Linked DNA regions of Homo sapiens: region 1 is linked to region 2. Evidence: promoter capture Hi-C in 16 types of primary human blood cells and fetal thymus (Javierre and others, 2016). All regions are on one chromosome and are shown on one strand. Each heading gives the region's core, a stretch centred on a gene start or on the middle of the fragment in contact. The rest is flanking DNA. Distances are from core to core; before and after follow the strand shown. Region 1 holds the start of SDR42E1 (short chain dehydrogenase/reductase family 42E, member 1). Region 2 has its middle 94 kb from the start of MPHOSPH6.

Region 1 (4,153 bases), core at 980-3,479, 250 kb before region 2:
TCCCCACTGGGACACTGCCTAGTGGAGCTGTGAGAAGAGAGCTACCATCCTCCAGACCCCAGAATGGTAGATCCACCAACAGCTTGCACCGTACACCTAGAAAAGCAGCAGACACTAAACGCCAGCCCTGGAAGCAGCCAAAAGTGGGGCTGTACCCTGCAAAACCACAAGGGTGGAGCTGCCCAAGACTATGGGAAACCACCTCTTGCATCAGTATGACCTGGATATGGGACACGGAGTCAAAGGAGGTCATTTTGGAGTTTCAAGATGTGACTGCCCCGCTGGATTTTAGACTTGCATGGGGCCTGTAGCCCCTTCGTTGTGGCCAATTTCTCCTTTTTGGAATGAGTATACTTACCCAATACCTGTACCCCCATTGTATCTAGGAAGTAACTAACTTGCTTTTGATTTTACAGGCTTATAGGTGGAAGGGGCTTGCCTTGCCTCAGATGAGACTTTGGAGTGTGGACTTTTGAGTTAATGCTAAAATGAGTTAAGACTTTGTGGGACTGTTGGGAAGGCATGATTGGTTTTGAAATGTGAGGGCATGAGATTTGGGAGGGGCCAGGGGCGGAATGATATGGTTTGGCTGTGTCTCCACCCAAATCTCACCTTGAATTGTAGATCCCATAATTACCACGTGTCCTGGGAGGGACCCAGTGGGAGGTAACTGAATCACAGGGGTGGGTTTTTCCCATGCCGTTCTCTTGATAGTGAATAAGTCTCAAAAGATCTGATGGTTTTATAAAGGGGAGTTCCCCTACACAAGCTCTCTTGCCTGCCACCATATAAGACGTAAGATGTGACTTTGCTCCTCTTTTGCCTTCTGGCATGATTATGAGGCTTCCCCAGCCATGTGGAACTGTGAGTCCATCAAACCTCTTAACTTTATAAATTACCCAGTCTTGGGTATGTTTTTATTAGCAGCATGAGAATGGATTAATACAGGTAGTTTAAAGGTTTAGCATTTAAGCCTCAGGACAATCTTCCGAAGTTGTTACTAGTATTATCATCAGCTTTCAGAAATGAGGAAAATAGATCAGAGGTTAGGAACCTTGCCCACAAATTATGCAGGTCATAAGGGGTTGGGCAGGGTTCAGGACTTGAAGCCGGGTCTGTATGACTCTTAACCACTACATGTAATGCCGCACAATAAGGCTGGGACAATACAGATTCGCTTAGGTCATTATCTTATCACTGTGAAAGGAAAATAAATCTTGGGGTCCCAAGATCACTAAGCTAAAGGGAAAAGTCAAGCTGAGAACTGCTTAGGGCAAACCTGCCTCCCATTCTATTCATGTATCTCTGCTCACTAAAATAAAGGCATATCTGATTGCTTCCTTTGGAGAGGCTAATCAAACTCAAAATAATGCAACCATTTGTCTCTTACCTACCTATGACCTGGAAGCCCCCTCCCCGTTTCGAGTTGTCCCGCCTTTCCAGACCGAAAAACATGTTCATCTTACATCTGTTCTTGTCTCATGTCTCCCTAAAATGTAGAAAACGAAACTGGGCTCTGACCACATTAAGAATACATCGTCAGGACCGCCTGAGGCTGTGTCATGGGTACATGTCTTCAACCTTGGCAAAATAAACTTTCTAAATGAACTGAGACCCGTCTCAGATTTTCAGGGCTCACTCCACCTCCACAATTTCTGTCACATCTGATTCATCTGGTATTATGACTAGCCTATAAGGTTTTGTTTAAACCTACTTACCTTTTCCCAACAAATACATGCAGTTTAAATGGGAACCTGTCACTGCCACTTTTAAGTGGCAAACCAGAACCAAGTGATAAAGAGGAGGTAATCGTTCTCCCAAAGTGTGCAGAAAATCAAAGACAGGAATCAAGTATAGCCAGCCACCTGTGGAAAGTTCGGAGCTTGGGGCCCCGATGTCCTTAAAAACAAAAAATGCGGAGGGCCAGTGTTTGAGGCCTTGGCGACATTCTAGAAAGCCAAGCTGCGCCCGGTCCCCTGGGATCAGGAAGACATCTGAAAGGGGATACTCCTTCCCGCCACCCTGCTCAGTCATTCACCACCGTCCCCCACCCCCGGGACCGCCACCTGTCGCGTTCCAGGCCGAGGCGGTCCAGGGTCCCCGCGGAAGGGCGGCGGCCCCCCAACCCCAGCCCAGGCCCACTCACAGCTGCAGGAACAAGGGCGCGGCAGACGGCTACAGCAGGCAGAGAGGCCCAGGCCTCCTAGCTACCCATCACCACAGCTGGGGCGCCGAAGCCGTCGGACCTGCCTCCTGGAGCCACTTCCGGGCCTCTCTAGGAAGCCTGGAGGTCTCGGAGTCTCTATGACGCGCAGGTGTCTCCTTCACCTTCACCGGCGTTGAGGTAGCAGGAGGTTCGCTTCATGAATTCCCCCACGTTCTCTGGCTGTGCGTTCCGCCGTGGCGGGAACCCTTTTAGGGTCACGTCTTCCCCCACGTCCCCTGTCTGTGCGTTCCGCCGTGGTGGGAACCCTGTTAGGGCCACGTCAACTGCTCTTCCCACCTCCAGTGTCTGCTTTTAGACTTTCACCTCCATCTTTGTTTATCCCCAAGGCCAAGACCAGTGCCTGATAAATAGGCACTCAGGTCAGCATTGCTTGGGTGGATGGATGATGGAAAAGGCTCTATAGGGAGGCAGAATATTCACTCTCCATGTATCTCTTTAAGTTTCTATTATCTCTGAGTTTCCATATCTATGTGTGCCCATAGGTTTTCCTGTGTCCCTAATTTTCCTTATTTCTCTTTGTTCTGGTCGCCAAGCAGGCAGTGATGCCAAGACTAATCTTTGTTGCTGAAGGAACCAAGGAATGCAGAAAGGAAAGTTGGCATCCTCACTCAGAGGTCTCCTTTTGAGGCCCATCTTTTGTCTCCTCATCATGAGTGTGGTTCTGTGGATGGTTGCAGACTGTACACGTGTATGGACATGCATCCTGGAATGGACCCCTGGCTGGGGAGGATTTCATTTTAGTGTCTTGGAGGATGGAAGTTTTGACTTCATGTGGTGCTCTTGCCGATAGATCTGGTACCAAAGGCAGACTCAGAGAGGTTCATATCAATTGCCTGATTTACTGCTCAGTTTTCACTAAGCACACACAGTCACAAGGACAAAGCTCAAGTCCTAGGATATAAAAATTAATGAAGCCCAGGTGAAGAAATCAAGAAGTGCCAGTCCCTGGCACTGGCCTCTCTCATAGGATGCTCTGGCTTTCCTGCCTGTCTTGTCCTCACCTATTAGGCAGGCATAAGTCACAGGAGACTTCTTGTGCTAAGCAGTCTTAAAGAACAGCTTTGCAGTGGCTGCTTAGGATACATAAAAATTAGAAGAGAAGAGGAAGGGTATTCAGGGGGCTGAGAGACCAGCTATATGCTCTTGAGGCCAGCAGCTAAGGAAGAAAAGACCCACTGAGGATGCAGTAAAGAAGACAGACTTCCTTTGGGGAATTACAGGATCCTCTGAGGGATACCCAGATTTAGAGTGTGTGGATAAACATGAGAAATGGTGAATTTAAATGTTAGTATTCTTGTGCCACCGAGGACTCTTTTAAAATATAATCAGGCGTGTTTTAAAGGAAAATTACAAACTCTATAATTGCTTCCTTAGCTTCCATCATAATTTAGTGAGTTGATTTTATAAAGGTCTGACCAAGAGATCTAAGACAGAAATGACTGGAGAAAGAAATTAACTTCAATGTGAGTTTGTATATCAGTGTTTGTTTAGTATTGTCTTCCCCCAATAATATGTCCAGGCAGTGGATGCATCTCAGAAAGATCAGTTTGCTGTCACAATTACTCACAGGTGTGCAGTATTTTATTTCTCACTCCGATCACAGTCCAATTCAGTCTGCAGGGAAGGGGAAGAGTGCTGTGCTCCACATAATCACTCAGGGACCCAGGCTTCCCCCATTTGTTATGCCATCATGTTCAACTCTTGGCTGCCAAGGTCACTACAGAAGAGGAAGTAAGAGCTTGGCTTTCCCCAACACTTTCACTTAAAGTCTCCTGCATCCCCTTGAAATTCTTCAATCTCTTCACAGCACTTAGCTCATCTGAAATTATCTTGCATGTTGCTATAATGAAAGCTCCGTGAGTGCAGAGACCTGCTTGATTGATTGGTGTATCTCCACTACCTACTATAGTGTCTGGCATAGAGACA
Region 2 (3,995 bases), core at 313-2,812:
TGGTACTTCTGTGCTAGAGAAGAGAGGGGGGTTCTGTATATTTCCTAAATGCCCCACCAGAGGGGCTAAAGGGGGAAGGTTGCAGAGTCCTCTGTTTTGGCTTCATGCTGCAGTGCCTGACTCTGCCTTGAAGGTGTCTTGTTCAGTGGTGGGATCACTCTGCTTGTTGGTGACAACCTGGGTATAGAGATGCCTTCTGAGTACATTCCTTAGATGTCCTCCCTGTGCTCCCACTCCCCTGTCCACTCTTTGGGGGTTAGCATCATCACTGTCCATGCCCTCCAATGGGATTAGCTCCCTTCCTGACCCCAGGGATCTCTTACAGCATGGAAGTGCATTTCTCCAGGTCCATTTATTCATCTGTTCATCCTGCAAACATGTACTGGCCGCTGACTGCTTATAATGTCCGGTGCCAGCGCTTGGGATTAATATAGACACAAATTAGACATGAGTCTTGCCTTTAAGATGCTTAACATTCATGTCACCCACTTAAAGCAAGGGTGGACTGTGGGAGGGCTAGTGATAAGCAGGGTGAGATTTCACTGGCAAGAGGCACTGATGCCATTGGAAGGGGCTGGGTTTGTGGGTGTGAGAGTGGTGGGAAATGTAGGGCAGGAAGAGAAAATGGTGAAGCTGCCCTTTGAAGGGTTTGACTAGGTGAGGATGGGTCAGATTCACCCTGACACACCTGGCCAGGGCTGATCCTAGTCTGGAATTAGATGTCTGGGTTCAGAACCCATGCTATCTGTGAGACCATGTGCAAAGGTCCTCACCAGCTAGGCCCCATTACCTCATCTGTGAAATGAGATACACATAGTTCTTCCTTCCTGGTGATTCCCTGGAGATTTGGCCAGCTTCGTATGATGCTTTGGGCACAACCCCCAGCATGGCATCAACTCTTGATCAGTACCAGCTAGCTGCCATTGCTGTTAGCCAATCCGGGGAGAGAAGGGACTTTTCTGACACTGCGAGCTTGGAACAGGCGTCTAGTACCATATATTTAGGAGACTGGAAGGGAAAACTTGACCATTTCTTTGAGTTGTAAACTTGCCTGGTAGCAAGGAGGAGAAAAAGGTGAGCAAGTCCCATGTCTAAAACCCTATTAAAGGCTCTTTATTTTTTCCTGGCTCTAGGGCTGCGTTTTCTACCTGTTGTTATGAAAACATGGCCTAAAATATCTCTAGCCAAGCAGTCCAGAGCCCATGGGAACTGTCAAAACTGGGATTGGAGCATAAATATGAAATGACACGAAGCTTCATGTTCTGTTATTAAACTTCACAGCTAGAATTTTTGAAAGCAAATTATCTTGTAGAAATATTCTTGTTACGTTAAACTGGAAATGAAAATAACTTATTTATTTGCTTAGATCAAATTGTTGCATGCAAAGTTAGGCTGTGTTGTTTTTCCACTGCCAAATGCTTTGACGCATTCCTTTAACCAAACAGTTTAAATGTGAATATTAGTTAAGATGCATCAACCACAGTGGGTTGTCAGCCTCCTAAGGATTGTATCCTTTCAAATGGGTCAATGAATAGAGATTTAAAATAGAAGTCAGATACTTTAATGTTTTTCGCATTCAACCAAGAGAACAATTTGCTTGCAGATAGTAGGGGTATGTTATATGTGATTGATAAATGAGCTTATTTACGGCAATTTGGGCATCCCCTGTATGTGCCGTAGTTTTCAGAAGCACGAGCAGGTGTTATCAGGGCTTGGGATGCACCTTCATGGCCACCAGATGTCACTGTTGAGTCACAGAAGCACAGCCATAGGGGCTGAGAATCTTTGGTGGGGAGGACGTTTAGGAAAACTTTACCTTGCCAAACAGCTCATTCTTTATTTTAAATATCTGCCAAGCCCAGGATCCCAGGGCAAGCTTAGCTGAAGTCAGGAGAGTGCTTTAGAGTATGGAACAAAATTAGGGAAATAGGAAAAAAATGCAGTATTTGCTCTTTCTGTCTTTTGGAGATTCTCCTTGTCGCTCAATCACACTTGTACGCCTGCTCTCTCCCCATTCCCAGCCCAGAGCTAAGCAGTAAATGCACTGAATTGGTTAGACCCTTGCAAAATCGCAGAACACCAGAGCTGGCAGGGCTCACAGGCGTCAGCTAGCACAATGTCTCAACTCAAGTGCAGGGGCGCCAATAGGAGGAGGAGTTGTTCAAAGTCTCTGTTAGCTTTAGGCTGAGGATCTCTCATAAGGATATTAAATAAAGGTATAGCACAGCGGTTCTTAAAAGTGTGGTCCCTGGACCAGCAGAACTAGTATCACACGGGAACTTGTTAGAAATGCACATTCTTGGCCTGCACCCCAGATCTACTGAATCAGAAAGGCTGGGTTGGGGTTTAGCAATCTGTCCTTTAACAAGCCCTCCAGAGGATTCTGATTTGACAGAGGGAAAAGCTCTACTGATAATACGGGTAGGAGAGCTTCAGTTCCTACTTCCGGGTGCCATCAGCATCTCTCCAGGCTCTGGGCTCTGAAGATTATGGTTAATTCACAGCTTCTCATTGGAGCTTGACCTCATCTACACATTCCCTGGGAAAAGTGTCTCCCTTCTAGACATGACTATATTGGGTTGAGGTATCAAGATACTTCTCTTCTATGCTCCCCATTTTTTCCCGGCTCCACCTTCCAGCCATGGAATACAGTTGACTTAGGATGCTCCCTGGTAGCTCCCTTTTGGGCAGGAGCAGCTGGAGCCCTAGTCAACCCTTTCCCCTCCTCTGCTCCCTTATCCCCCTTATACTTCTTCCCCTGTGTCTCGCACTTTTCTATTTCAGGAGGGAGAGCTTAGTGCTATTGAGAATCTACCACGTGCCATGTGTTTCCACATGTTCTTGGAGCTCTCACAACAAACCATGGAAAAGAGAGTTTGACCGTCGCCACTTTTTTTTTTTTTTTTTTTTTTTTTTTCCAGGCCGGGAAACGGCCAAGGTCGCACTGGCAAGGACTTGTGTGCACAGGGAAATTTCAATGGTCCTCCTTCAAGTTAATGGGGCTTTACTTTCCTCCCAGGCTCTCTCTGCATTTTTAATGAGACTGCAAGTCCCAAGAGGGAAGCCAAGTAAGCATTTCAGATTCCTCTGCCTGGATCTGAGGGCAGAGACTTCTAGGGGGTTGGGAGGTAGAAGAAGGGAATCCCTGTGATTCCCCACAAGGTGCGTTCCCAAGAAAGAGTGCCTCTTCTGTGCTTGGAAAATGGTTAGATCCTGAGCGTGGTCTCCCACAGAAAGAAGTATTCCTTAGCTTTCGACATCACTTATGTTGTCATTTTCCAGCTACTTTTAGGACTGCCCATTTCCTATATTATGTGTTCTTCTAAGGTTTAACCTCAAGTTAGTGTAATCAAAGATTTTTTTCTGCTACATCAGGTTAGATTGGCTTTGCAAATTCTGGCATCCTCCTGTTTCCTCTTGTTTGAATATATGTTAAAAAAAAAACCATAAAAACAACAAAACAAAATAACAAAAAAAAACTATTTATCTTATTTTGGTACTCTAGTTTTTAGGAAAGGCCTGATCCTAATCATGTTTGGATGCACACTAGGAAAATACTACTTAACCTTTTTCTTGCCTTTTTAATGTCTGCTGTTCCTTTTCTTGTAGCAAGTGATACAGAGGAATTGCAGTGAAGTTACCATGAAGATAAAGGTAAACCCACACAAATGACCTCCAGCATCTTCTGTCTTTAGCTTTTCCTTCCTAGCCGACACATCTTTTGAGTTTTAGAACATTTACGTTGTTTTATACTCCATCTCATTTTGAGGCTTTCCTCTTTCTTTCCAGGCTAGTTCTTTGTGATATAAGACTTAATTCTGCTTTTTTGTTTCTGATTGAGAATTTCATTTCCTTTTATGCTTAGGCGTTTGCTCAGCCTAACTTACCAGTGTGGTTTATTCTGCTGAGAAAAACTGAGAACTCATGAGAATGCTGTTCTTCTTTCCTTTTCTTTCTCAGTATTCAAGCGTGGGCTTGGGAGTCAGGCATTCCTG

The links. The method cuts DNA at HindIII sites, captures the fragments that hold promoters and counts their contacts. A CHiCAGO score of 5 or more calls a contact.
Region 1: a contact is called between the fragment with the promoter of SDR42E1 here and a fragment that was not itself captured in region 2, in 1 of 17 cell types (monocytes). The highest score is 6.0, in monocytes.

The regions. Positions count from the first base shown.
Region 1 is chr16:82,009,241-82,013,393 of GRCh38, forward strand. SDR42E1 (short chain dehydrogenase/reductase family 42E, member 1) reads right to left here and starts at 2,230. Exons shown (of 3, transcript NM_145168.3): 1 at 2,147-2,230. RefSeq lists a silencer at 2,005-2,154 and enhancers at 2,395-2,484, 2,495-2,574. The HindIII fragment of the contact is 9,437 bases long and covers 1-4,153 here.
Region 2 is chr16:82,261,961-82,265,955 of GRCh38, forward strand. No RefSeq gene overlaps it. Among named protein-coding and RNA genes, the nearest start is that of MPHOSPH6, 94 kb to the left of the region's middle. The HindIII fragment of the contact is 623 bases long and covers 1,252-1,874 here.